Regions from separate parts of the Homo sapiens genome. Here region 1 is linked to region 2. The links are contacts of gene promoters, found by promoter capture Hi-C in human tissues and cell types (Jung and others, 2019). All regions are on one chromosome and are shown on one strand. The core of a region is centred on a gene start or on the middle of the fragment in contact, and the rest is flanking DNA. Distances in the headings are between cores, read along the strand shown. Region 1 holds the start of SLC25A45 (solute carrier family 25 member 45). Region 2 holds the start of FAU (FAU ubiquitin like and ribosomal protein S30 fusion).

The links. The method cuts DNA at HindIII sites, captures the fragments that hold promoters and counts their contacts. A contact is called where the count stands out against the background at its distance.
Region 1: the fragment with the promoter of SLC25A45 here is called in contact with the fragment with the promoter of FAU in region 2 in 1 of the 25 tissues and cell types used here (dorsolateral prefrontal cortex).

The regions. Positions count from the first base shown.
Region 1 is chr11:65,378,205-65,384,369 of GRCh38, reverse strand. SLC25A45 (solute carrier family 25 member 45) reads left to right here and starts at 1,724. Exons shown (of 7, transcript NM_182556.4): 1 at 1,724-1,884; 2 at 2,401-2,455; 3 at 4,195-4,238; 4 at 4,432-4,503; 5 at 4,809-4,994. The coding sequence starts at 2,419. It also overlaps a transcript of FRMD8 not described here. RefSeq lists a silencer at 298-592 and enhancers at 504-1,030, 1,359-1,558, 1,569-1,878, 1,778-2,072, 1,559-2,086 and 4 more. The HindIII fragment of the contact is 21,887 bases long and covers 1-6,165 here.
Region 2 is chr11:65,117,908-65,123,712 of GRCh38, reverse strand. It overlaps FAU (FAU ubiquitin like and ribosomal protein S30 fusion), which reads left to right and starts at 1,579. Exons shown (of 5, transcript NM_001997.5): 1 at 1,579-1,623; 2 at 1,892-1,974; 3 at 2,069-2,213; 4 at 2,677-2,732; 5 at 2,907-3,083. The coding sequence starts at 1,900. The coding sequence ends at 3,032. It overlaps MRPL49 (mitochondrial ribosomal protein L49), which reads right to left and starts at 1,392. Exons shown (of 4, transcript NM_004927.4): 1 at 1,289-1,392. The coding sequence starts at 1,366. RefSeq lists enhancers at 1,102-1,371, 1,532-1,621, 5,762-5,805. The HindIII fragment of the contact is 8,684 bases long and covers 1-2,007 here.

The sequences.
Region 1 (6,165 bases), core at 475-2,974, 260 kb before region 2:
TGGTGGGGAAGGAAAGGCATTCCAGGTAGTGGGAACTGCACGAGCATGGTTAGGACCCCAGGAAAGACCCCCGCTGTGTGAGAGCATAGCAGGTGGGTGGCACCATGGGGGAGGCCTTGAACCCCAGGATGACAGATATGGGGCAGGCGTGTTAGACAGTAAGAACATTTTGGAGGTTGTGAGCTAGAGATTCACAAGATGACGCCATGCTTAGGTGGGCTTCCCTTCAGCAAGGCTGTAGGGAAGTGGGAATGAGGGTCTTTCTCAAACTGGGGTGAGGCGGTGAGATTGGAAAAGAGAATGAGACCCATTCTGAAGTGAGGGAGGAGGCGGCCTCCAGCCTTTAGAGCTGAGAGGCTTAGACATCAATTAGCCCGACTGCTGTCCTACTTTGGCAAACAATAATAGACCCCAAGGCCCACAGAAGAGGTTGCTCAACATCACTGAGAGAGATAATGTAACCGCCCATTGGGTTCACCTTACCCTCTGCCTAGACAGAGCCAATTTGTCAAGACAGGGGAATTGCAATAAGGAGAGTTTAATTCATGCAGAGCTGGCTGTACGAGAGACAGGAGGGTTTTTTTTTTGTTTGTTTGTTTGTTTTTTTTTTTTGAGACGGAGTCTCGCTCTGTTGCCCAGGCTGGAGTATAGTGGCATGATCTTGGCTCACTGCAACAGCTGCCTCTCGGGTTCAAGCGATTCTCCTGCCTCAGCATCCCAAGTAGCTGGGACTACAGGCGCCCGTCATCACACCCGGCTAATTTTTGTATTTTTGGTAGAGATGGGGTTTCACTATGTTGGTCAGGCTGGTCTCGAACTCCTGACCTCAGGTGGTCCTTCCGCCTCGGCCTCCCAAAGTGCTGGGATTACAGGCGTGAGCCACTGCGCCTGGCCTGTATCAGTTATAGTTTTTGCAAAGGCAGTTTCAGGAATAAGAAGCAGAACCAGGACTGCAGCCCAAGCCACCACGAGAGGCCAGTCTTTGGGGATGGTCTTTTAGGATGATCTTTGGGGGTGGCCCAAGGAGCCCCAGGCAGCTCCAGAGGCAGGAGGTAGGAGGTCCTGTTTCCCGAATCTGTCCACCCGGGAGAAAGCAGCAGGGGTGGGTGGGTTCTGCCTTGGCCACAGTGAGAGGAGAAGGGAGAGAAGGACTGGGCCTTGGGCGTCCCCCATGGGAGACTAGGAGCTGCGGGGAGATCTGGAGGGGAGGGTGCAGGTGTCACTGGGCCTTGATGTTTCCCAGGGCCGTTTGGTGATGGGAAGAGGGAACTGGAGCCCCAGGCTGCCGCTGATGCTGCTGGCTGACATTTCCGTTCATTCAGTCACTCAGGATTTATTGAGAGCCCACCCTGTGCCACCCGCTGTGCACAGAACACCCAGAGATCCCTGTCCAGACAGACAAGTTCTTCCCATCGTATGTTGGCGTGATAACTGTGATGGAGAAAGAGAGGAAGAGCCAGCAGTGCCTCCGGCTGGGGAGGCGGGGCAGACCTCACCCAGGTGGTGACATTTGAGCCCCAGCTGGAGGGGTGCCAGGGCAAGAGTGCCCAGGAAGAGGGAAGAGCCAGTCCACAGGCCTGGAGACAGAAGGCTGACTGAAGAAGAGTCTGGAGGCTCGGGTGGCTGCAGCAGAGAAAGCAAGGGGGTGGGTGGCAGGACGTGAGGTCAGAGGAGAATGGGCGGCACCCTGTGGCTCACAGATCCTTGAAAGGGTTTTGGTTTTGACTGAGCAGAATGGTGCCATTGCAGATCAACACGCACTTTAAATAATCAAAACCCCTATCTTTCCCCTGGGAAGGAGGAAGCCGAGGAAGGCTGTGTTTCTGACTCACACGGGGGAGTCGGGGGAGTCGTAAACAACCCTGAAGAGAACAGCCAGGCCTGGTGAGTCACTCCTGGGAGTGGCTCCTCCCCACCCTGCCACGCAGCGGCAAATGCGGGCTGGGCCTACCCCCTGGTGGCCACGCTACCTCCGCACCCGGCCTCTCTCTGTGGCATGGGGGCGGCCATGCCCCTTGGTGGAGATGAATGGGAGTGGAGCTGGGCTGGCTGGGCAGGCAGGGGCTTGCCTCTTGCTGACTAAGGCAGCCCTGGAGGGGCCCGACCATGGGGCAGGAACCCAGTTGCCATCCTCAGAGCGAGGATCATTGGCCGGGCTCGGGGATCAGGGCCTCTGTGGTCCCGGCACGCCTGGCCCGTGAGACTGTACTCTGCACGACTCCTCCAGGTGGCCAGGGTCACCGGAACTGGCTCGCTCTCCTCTGCCAGTTGCCGGAGGTCTGGGCACCAGGCCAATTCTCACCTTCCCGCCAGGGTTAAACATTAGTGGGAGGTTATCAGCGTGGGCCAGGGGAGGGAGAGGGGGGAATTCAACTCTGTCTCCTCTGCTGGAGCCACCAGTTCCCGCAAGCCCAGACAATGCCGGTGGAGGAATTTGTGGCTGGCTGGATCTCTGGTGAGACATTTTTCTTCCTTCTGTCACATCACACCCAATGGTAGGTCACTTCCTCGGGAAGATGGGTGACATGGGAGGAGCAGAGACCAAAGTCTGAGTTCCGGCCTGGCGGGAGGATCACTTGAGCCCAGGAGTTTGAGACCAGTCTGGGCAACATAGGGAGGCCCCTGTCTCTACAAAAAAATCAAAATAATTAGCTGGGCATGGTGGCTCACACCTGTAGTCCCAGCTACTTAGGAGGATTGCTTGAGCTCAGGAGTTCAAGGCTGCAGTGAGCTATGACTGCACCACTGCACTCCAGCCTGGGTGACAGAATGAGACCCTGCCACAAAAAAAAAAAAAAAAAAAAAAAAAGAATCAGGGCATGGTGGCTCACACCTGTAATCCCAGCACTTTGCGAGGCTGAGGTAGGAGGATCACTTGGGGCCAGGAGTTTGAGACCAGCCTGGGCAACATAGGAAGACCCTGTCTTTATAAGAAATGAGAGGCTGGGCGCGGTGGCTCATGCCTGTAAGCCCAGCACTTTGGGAGGCTGAGGTAGGTGGATCATGAGGTCAAGATTTCGAGACCAGGCTGGCCAACATGGTGAAACCCCGTCTCTACTAAAAATACAAAAATTAGCCAGGCGCGGTGGCGCACGCCTGTGGTCCCAACTACTCCAGAGGCTGAGGTGGAAGGAGCCCTTAAGCTCAGGAGGTTGAAGCTGCAATGAGCCATGATCATGCCACTGCACTCCAGCCTGGACAACACCAGCAAGACCCTGTGTCAAAAAAAAAAAGTCTGGGTTCCGTGGAGCACCCCAGAGCCAGCTGTCCCCAGTCCTCTGGGGAGTGGCCGATGGGAAGAAGAGAGGAAGGCACAGGTGGGAGGGTGCTGCCTCTGCCTTCCAAGGCCACTCTGCCTGACACCTGCAGAGGGCGGGAGAGCCAGGTGAGCACCCTATACCTTGAGCCCTGCTCTCCAGGCCCACCCTGTTGGGCTTACAAAGGAAGTTCACCTTTGACCTCACCTGCTGTCCTGAGTCCCCTCTGGGCCTCTGCCCCACCTGGCTGTGGGCCGCAGTCCCGGGCCCTGAGGCCTGTTGTGCTGTGGTCCCAGCCCAGCTTCTGGGTGGCATTCCTCTTAGGAGAAAGAGAGGGACGTTCTGAACCTGCCTCCTGGGGGTGCGACCTCCCCCAAACTCCAGAACCAGCCTCTGCTGTGGAGGGCAGGGCTAGGCAGTGGGCAGGTGGAGGGGAGGGGAGAAGCTCCTCTGCAGGTGCCCAGGCATGACCCCCATCAGGGCCCTGCAGTTCTGCGTGGCCAGCTGGCAGCAGGGCCTGCTCTGGATCCCGGCGACGACATTATGAGTTGAAGAAAGAAGAGTAAAGCTCTCGGAGAGGTGGGAACCTGGGTGATTCTCCCAGAGTCCCGCGGCTCATAGGCGGTGGGATACCCGGGTATGGGCTCCAGCGAGGACACGTACGTCTTTGGCTGGCTCTTCCCTCTTGGGTGTGCATCCTCAGGTGGGGCCTGGGGTCTTAGTCCCTTGTCCCAGTGCCTTCCTGGCCCAGTGCCTGTGTGGAGGGGGTGGCAGGGGCAGCTGGAGTCTCTAGAGCTTGGCAGGAAGGTGGCTGCATGTGTCTGAGATGGCCCTGCTCTCCTTCCTCCTGCCTGAACCCCTCTTTCCTCTTGGCACAGACTTGCTTCCTGGGCCTGGCACGAGGGCCCTCACTCATAGCACCCTCTTGTCACCACAGGCGCTCTGGGCTTGGTCCTGGGACACCCGTTTGACACTGTAAAGGTGAGTTTAGGAGAGCTGCCAGAGGAATGAAAGATCTCACCTGACCCAAATGTCAGGGTGCCCTGAGATCAGGCCTGGCTAATCTTGCCTTTCCTGCCTCTCCTGCTGGTTGGCATCCCGCTTGAGGGGGCAGAGGGAAAGGTTGGCCCACCTGCCCATCCCGCCACCCTACCTGCTCTGTCCTCCCACCCAGGTGAGGCTGCAGACCCAGACCACCTACCGGGGCATCGTTGATTGCATGGTCAAGATTTACCGCCATGAGTCCGTGAGTGGCCCACTCCTTTGGGGTCCTTCCCCTTTCGGGGAGGCATCTGGGGCTGTTGGTACCAGCTTCCCTCTCCAGCAGGGTTCTGCTCCTGGAGGAGAGAAGACCAAGTCTGGGATCCTTGGGGGGCCTGGGTGGTAGCTTAGCACCCCAGAGGCGCAGCCTCAGCCCATCCCTGCCTGTCCCCACTTCCCTGTGGCAGGACTTGGGAGCAGTTTCCAGCCAGAGGCTGCCTTGCCAGGGGTGGAGAGGACAAAGGGGAGGCCCCACGGTGCCTACTCCGCTGCCACTGTGTCTCTCTGCAGCTCCTGGGCTTCTTCAAGGGAATGAGCTTCCCCATTGCCAGCATAGCTGTGGTCAACTCTGTCCTGTTTGGGGTCTATAGCAACACCCTGCTGGTGCTCACGGCCACCTCCCACCAGGAGCGGCGGGCCCAGCCGCCCAGCTACATGCACATCTTCCTAGCGGGCTGCACCGGGGGGTTCCTGCAGGTGAGGGGGCAGTGAGTGGGCACACACAGGTGTCATAGGGATGGTCATCTCGATCTGTCCTCTCCCACCCTGCCCTGGCGACCCACAGCTGTGGAGGCATAGGCCTCTTGGAGGGGAACAAGAGGCCTGTGCTATGGCCTTCCAGGCTGCAGGCCTCTGGGGGAGGGCTGTGGGGAACAGAGGGGGCAAAAGGCAGAGACAGCTGGTGGGCAGTGCCAAGAGGGTGCTGGGAGAAGCAGCCTGGGCCACTCGCTCCAGCTGACGGGGCTTGCCCCCCTCCAGAGGGGTCTGCCAGCCTCAGAGCTGTGGGGAGCCCACTCCCCAAGGAGACCTTTGACCCTGGAGAACCACCAGCACCCCGCAGAGCTGTGAGCCCAGCCCCTCTGGCCGGGTCCTGATGAGGTCCTGACACTCCCCTGGCCCTGCCTGGCTCTACACTTTGCCTGCAGTGCTTGGGTGCCCATGACCTGGGAGCCTCACCTGAGGCCCAGCCCAGCAGGGCATTAACCATTCAGGCACTGCCGTCATCTGGGCTTTGGGCTTTAGAGGGGTGGATGGAGGGAAGAGGGACCAGCTGCCGCCAGTGGGAACCGGTGCTGAATGGGTCCTGTGAGCATAAGCAGGGAGAGGGTGCGCCCGGCACCCACTGACACCCCAGCCGCAAGCCAGGGTCGCCCTCTCCTGGGCAGCTGCCCCCAGTTCCTTGTCACACTTCATGGGGCAGAGAGCAAGGACAAAGGACAAAGTCAGGCTGCTCCTTCAAATGAATTAATGATTAATGAGACCCCCGGAGGCCCCGGCTTTTCTTCTGCCCCTTCTTGTGCGAGGTGCCACCTATAGGTTTCCTGAGCCCCGCGAGCCACATCCCACAAACACAAGGAAGAGAACCGAAGCCCTAAGCTAAGTGGCCAGGCCCGGCTTCTAAGTCACCCTGCCCCCCCAGCTCTTTGGAAAGCAGAAGTGGGGACTGTGAGGGCCGCTGATGGAGCCTGGGTTTACAGTGAAACCTGTGGCTTTAGTTTAACAGAGTCTTAAAGGAAAAATGTGTTTTAGTGTGGAGTGGGAAGAAGAGGCAGGGACTGACAGCCTCTGACGGGCACAGACGTTGCCCTGGTCTTCGCCGAAGCTGACCTTCTGAAATGGCATCTGACACTCCACCACCCCTGTGGGG
Region 2 (5,805 bases), core at 330-2,829:
ACCTAGGCTGGAGTGCAGTGGTGTGATCTCGGCTCACTGCAACCTCCGCCTCCCAAGTTCAAGCAAGTCTCCTACCTCAGCCTCCCAAGTAGCTGGGACTACAGGCACACGCCATCACACCCGGCTAATTTTTGTATTTTTTCTAGAGACGGGTTTCACCATGTTGGCCAGGCTTGTCTCAAACTCCTGACTCCAGGTGATCTACGCGCCTTGGCCTCCCAAAGTGCTGGGATTACAGGCGTGAGCCACCGTGCCTGGCCCATTTTTCTGTTAAAAACCTTTGTCTTCTTTTACCTCCCTGATAAGCACATAGTCTATACCCATTCCCGAATAAATATCCTTTTCTTTTAGAGTCTGTTATTTAGGTTGACATAAGATAGCACCAGTCTTTGGTTTTCCATGGTGCAGGGTACAGATGGGATGGAAAGGAGGCTCAGGTACTCTGAATGGTCTGCCTCTCAGGATTTCTGTGGGATGCAAAAGAGTATATGTACACTTCTGAAAAGTCAATCAAGCCTTTAGAAACTTAAGGCTTAACTTTCTGTCTCGGTTTTAGAAATAGATATTATTATATTGGCAGCGTGGCCTTGTTTGTACCTCCATGATTGCCTGGCTGGCCTTGCTAACCTAATCACATCTGTGACGGGATATAGTGATGTTTAATCTTATGATTGCCTTAAGAATTAAGGCAATCAGACGGGTTCGGCGGCTCATGCCTGTAATCCCAGCACTTTGGGAGGCCGAGGCGGGCGGATCACGAGGTCAGAAGATCCAGTCCATCCTGGCTAACAAGGTGAAACCCCGTCTCTACTAAAAATACAAAAAATTAGCCGGGCATGGTGGCGGGAGCCTGTAGTCCCAGCTACTCGGGAGGCTGAGGCAGGAGGATGGCGTGAATCTGGGAGGCGGAGCTTGCAGTGGGCCGAGATCGCGCCACTGCCCTCCAGCCTGGGCGACAGAGCGAGACTCCGTCTCAAAAAAAAAAAAAAAAAGAATTAAGGCAATCATAATTCCCCACGCACACTCATATGCTAGGACCCCGCCCCTTACCTGAAACGTTGTGGCTTATATAGACACTGCCAGGCACTGTGTTAAGTGCTCCCAAAGAGCACCCCAGTCTACCATTTTCCCTCTCGATTCTATATGTACACTCGGGACAAGTTCTCCTGATCGAAAACGGCAAAACTAAGGCCCCAAGTAGGAATGCCTTAGTTTTCGGGGTTAACAATGATTAACACTGAGCCTCACACCCACGCGATGCCCTCAGCTCCTCGCTCAGCGCTCTCACCAACAGCCGTAGCCCGCAGCCCCGCTGGACACCGGTTCTCCATCCCCGCAGCGTAGCCCGGAACATGGTAGCTGCCATCTTTACCTGCTACGCCAGCCTTCTGTGCGCGCAACTGTCTGGTCCCGCCCCGTCCTGCGCGAGCTGCCTGCCCAGGCAGGTTCGCCGGTGCGAGCGTAAAGGGGCGGAGCTAGGACTGCCTTGGGCGGTACAAATAGCAGGGAACCGCGCGGTCGCTCAGCAGTGACGTGACACGCAGCCCACGGTCTGTACTGACGCGCCCTCGCTTCTTCCTCTTTCTCGACTCCATCTTCGCGGTAGCTGGGACCGCCGTTCAGGTAAGAATGGGGCCTTGGCTGGATCCGAAGGGCTTGTAGCAGGTTGGCTGCGGGGTCAGAAGGCGCGGGGGGAACCGAAGAACGGGGCCTGCTCCGTGGCCCTGCTCCAGTCCCTATCCGAACTCCTTGGGAGGCCTGGCCTTCCCCACGTGAGCCGCCGCGACCACCATCCCGTCGCGATCGTTTCTGGACCGCTTTCCACTCCCAAATCTCCTTTATCCCAGAGCATTTCTTGGCTTCTCTTACAAGCCGTCTTTTCTTTACTCAGTCGCCAATATGCAGCTCTTTGTCCGCGCCCAGGAGCTACACACCTTCGAGGTGACCGGCCAGGAAACGGTCGCCCAGATCAAGGTAAGGCTGCTTGGTGCGCCCTGGGTTCCATTTTCTTGTGCTCTTCACTCTCGCGGCCCGAGGGAACGCTTACGAGCCTTATCTTTCCCTGTAGGCTCATGTAGCCTCACTGGAGGGCATTGCCCCGGAAGATCAAGTCGTGCTCCTGGCAGGCGCGCCCCTGGAGGATGAGGCCACTCTGGGCCAGTGCGGGGTGGAGGCCCTGACTACCCTGGAAGTAGCAGGCCGCATGCTTGGAGGTGAGTGAGAGAGGAATGTTCTTTGAAGTACCGGTAAGCGTCTAGTGAGTGTGGGGTGCATAGTCCTGACAGCTGAGTGTCACACCTATGGTAATAGAGTACTTCTCACTGTCTTCAGTTCAGAGTGATTCTTCCTGTTTACATCCCTCATGTTGAACACAGACGTCCATGGGAGACTGAGCCAGAGTGTAGTTGTATTTCAGTCACATCACGAGATCCTAGTCTGGTTATCAGCTTCCACACTAAAATTAGGTCAGACCAGGGCCCCCAAAGTGCTCTATAAAATTAGAAGCTGGAAGATCCTGAAATGAAACTTAAGATTTCAAGGTCAAATATCTGCAACTTTGTTCTCATTACCTATTGGGCGCAGCTTCTCTTTAAAGGCTTGAATTGAGAAAAGAGGGGTTCTGCTGGGTGGCACCTTCTTGCTCTTACCTGCTGGTGCCTTCCTTTCCCACTACAGGTAAAGTCCATGGTTCCCTGGCCCGTGCTGGAAAAGTGAGAGGTCAGACTCCTAAGGTGAGTGAGAGTATTAGTGGTCATGGTGTTAGGACTTTTTTTCCTTTCACAGCTAAACCAAGTCCCTGGGCTCTTACTCGGTTTGCCTTCTCCCTCCCTGGAGATGAGCCTGAGGGAAGGGATGCTAGGTGTGGAAGACAGGAACCAGGGCCTGATTAACCTTCCCTTCTCCAGGTGGCCAAACAGGAGAAGAAGAAGAAGAAGACAGGTCGGGCTAAGCGGCGGATGCAGTACAACCGGCGCTTTGTCAACGTTGTGCCCACCTTTGGCAAGAAGAAGGGCCCCAATGCCAACTCTTAAGTCTTTTGTAATTCTGGCTTTCTCTAATAAAAAAGCCACTTAGTTCAGTCATCGCATTGTTTCATCTTTACTTGCAAGGCCTCAGGGAGAGGTGTGCTTCTCGGGTTGGTGGTATGTCCCCTAGGAGAACAGTGAGGCAGAAAAGGCAGAAGCCTTTGGTATGGGGGGAAGAAATGGTAAACTACAAGAGAAATTTCCTGTGAAGAAACAGCTACAGATCCTGGGGGGCTTCAGATGTAAAATTGGGGTTATTCCCTATCCTAAGTAACTTGATCAGTCCCCCCAGGTCATTCTTTTTCATCTTCTAAACAGAGAAGGTAGCAGGAATCACTGTGGTGAGAGGTTTGTTATGGAGGCAGCAATAGAAGGGATGGGTGGGGGAAGAGGTTTGTATAGAAGGTGAACCTGGCCGTTCCCTGAACTTGGTACCAGCTGTGGCCTTAGAGTCCAGGGCAGGAATCTGGTCTGCCTTGGTTTTAGAAGTAAATATTATGTTGGGAGCATGGCCTCGTTTGTACCTCTGTGACTGCCTGGCCGGACTTGGTAACCTAATCACATCTGTGATTGGATATAGTGAGGTTTCAGTGTTCCCAAAAGTTGGGTTACCTCTGGGGCTGATTCAGGGTTCTCTTCTGGCAACTGAGCCTCCCAGCACTTCTGAACCCCACTTACTCATTCAGCTAAAGTTTCTGGACCTGCCAGTTCTTGAGAAATAGCATCCAACAGGGTAAAGCCCTTGGGCTGTGGACTTTGACTGCCTGAGTTTGGACCTTCTTTTTCTTCCTACTCCATTTACTGGGTGGCTGGCCTTTGAACTAACTACTAATTTAATCTCTGCCATCTCCAGGGCTGCTGTGAGGGTTAAAGGATGTAAATCAACATCTGGCTTACAGTGAGTGTGTGAATCTTGGCTATTTTTGTCTCTGTGGTGTTAAAGACATGGTTTCTGCCTTCCAGCAGTTTAGAAAGGGGGAGGATGTGGACAGATACAATAGCATCCCAGAGAGGGCCTCTTTTTTTGTTTTTCTTTTTTCTTTATTTTATTTTATTGAGACAGAGTCTCGCACTGTCGCCAGGCTGGAGTGCAGTGGCACAATCCGAGCTCACTGCAACCTCAGCCTCCCGGGTTCACGCCATTCTCCTGCCTCAGCCCCCTGAGTAGCTGGGACTACAGGCATGTGCCACCACGCCCAGCTAATTTTTGTATTTTTAGTAGACATGGGGTTTCCCCATGTTGGCCAGGATGGTCTCGATCTCTTGACCTCGTGATCGCCCACCTCGGCCTCCCAAAGTACTGGGATTACAGCCATGAGCCACAGTGCCCGGCCTTTTCTTTTTTGTTTTTGAGACAAGGTCTCTCTCATCCAGGCTGGAGTGCAGTTGCACAATCATGGCTCACTGCAGCCGCCAACTCCTGGGCCCAGGTGATCCTACTCAGCCTCCAAAGTAGCTGAGGACTACAGGCATGCACCGCCACACCTGGCTAATTTTTTGTACTTTTTTGTAGAGACAGGGTTTTGCTATGTTGCCCAGGCTGGTCTTGAACTGGGCTCAAGTGATCCGCCCACCTTGGCCTCCCAAAGTGCTGAGATTACAGGTGTCAGCCGCTGTGCCCAGCCGAGAGGTCCTGTTTAAATGACGTGAGTGAGACCTGAGATGAACCAGTCAAGTGATCAGGTAGGGGAATATTTCAAGCCTAGAGGACTGTGTGAAGATGGGGAAGAGGTGATGTCTAGGGCTGGGGGCGGGCAGATCCTGCAAGGCCTTGTCAGCCATAGAGAGGAGTTTGGGTTTGAGTCCAAGTGCAATGGAGGGTCGCAGAAGGGTTTTGAGTAACAGATGGATCTCATCTGACTTGTGATCTAATTTCTCTGGCAGGTTTTTCTGGAGGGCTGGCAAGAAAGTTAGGAAAAACACTTAATGTGTTGTCATCCACATGAGGGGTCAGGAAGCTTAGACCACCAGTAGTAGCAGGGATGCAAAGAACACTCACAGTTTGGTTCATCACACCCCCCACTCCACCACAAGAGTGAGCTCTATTAGAACAGGGACCCCCGGCTCCCTTTGATGTGCATTGTGTTCTTGGCACCTAGAATGGGGCCTGCACTTAATAAGATGGATGAATAGTGGTATTTAATGAGAAGATACTTAATGAAAAGAAGAGGCAGTTTTGGAGGAAAAAAATCATAGGAGCTCAGATATTTCTTAAATGCTGCTTTCTATTTATCTTTTTGAGGTGGAGTTTCTCTCTGTGGCCCAGGCTCGCAGGCTGGAGAGCGGTGGCGCGATCTCGGCTAACTGCAGCCTCCACCTCCCGGGTTCAAGCGATTCCCCTGCCTCAGCCTCAGGAGTAGCTGGGACTACAAGCACCCGTCCCCCACGCCCGGCTAATTTTGTATTCTTAGTAGAGACGGGGTTTCTCCATGTTGGTCAGGCTGGTCTCAAACTCCTGACCTCAGGTCATCTGCCCGCCTCGGCCTCCCAAAATGCTGGGATTACCGGCGTGACCCACCGTACCTGGCCCTAACTGTCCTTTTATTTGTCTGTGTCCCCTAGTGCATTTTATTTGTCTGTGTCCAGCGCAGGGATGCATCGCCTCCCGTAGGCTTGGCACAATTAGTGGCCCAGAGTAGGTGCCTAGTAAAGATGGATTTATGCCACAGCACATTGTAGTGCTAAAAAGAGGGTTTTCTCTTTAGATGATCGGGCCACGTTTTGGTGTGACCACTAGGGGGAGACGTGGCACCGGCGAAGCGCTCGCCAGACCCATTTT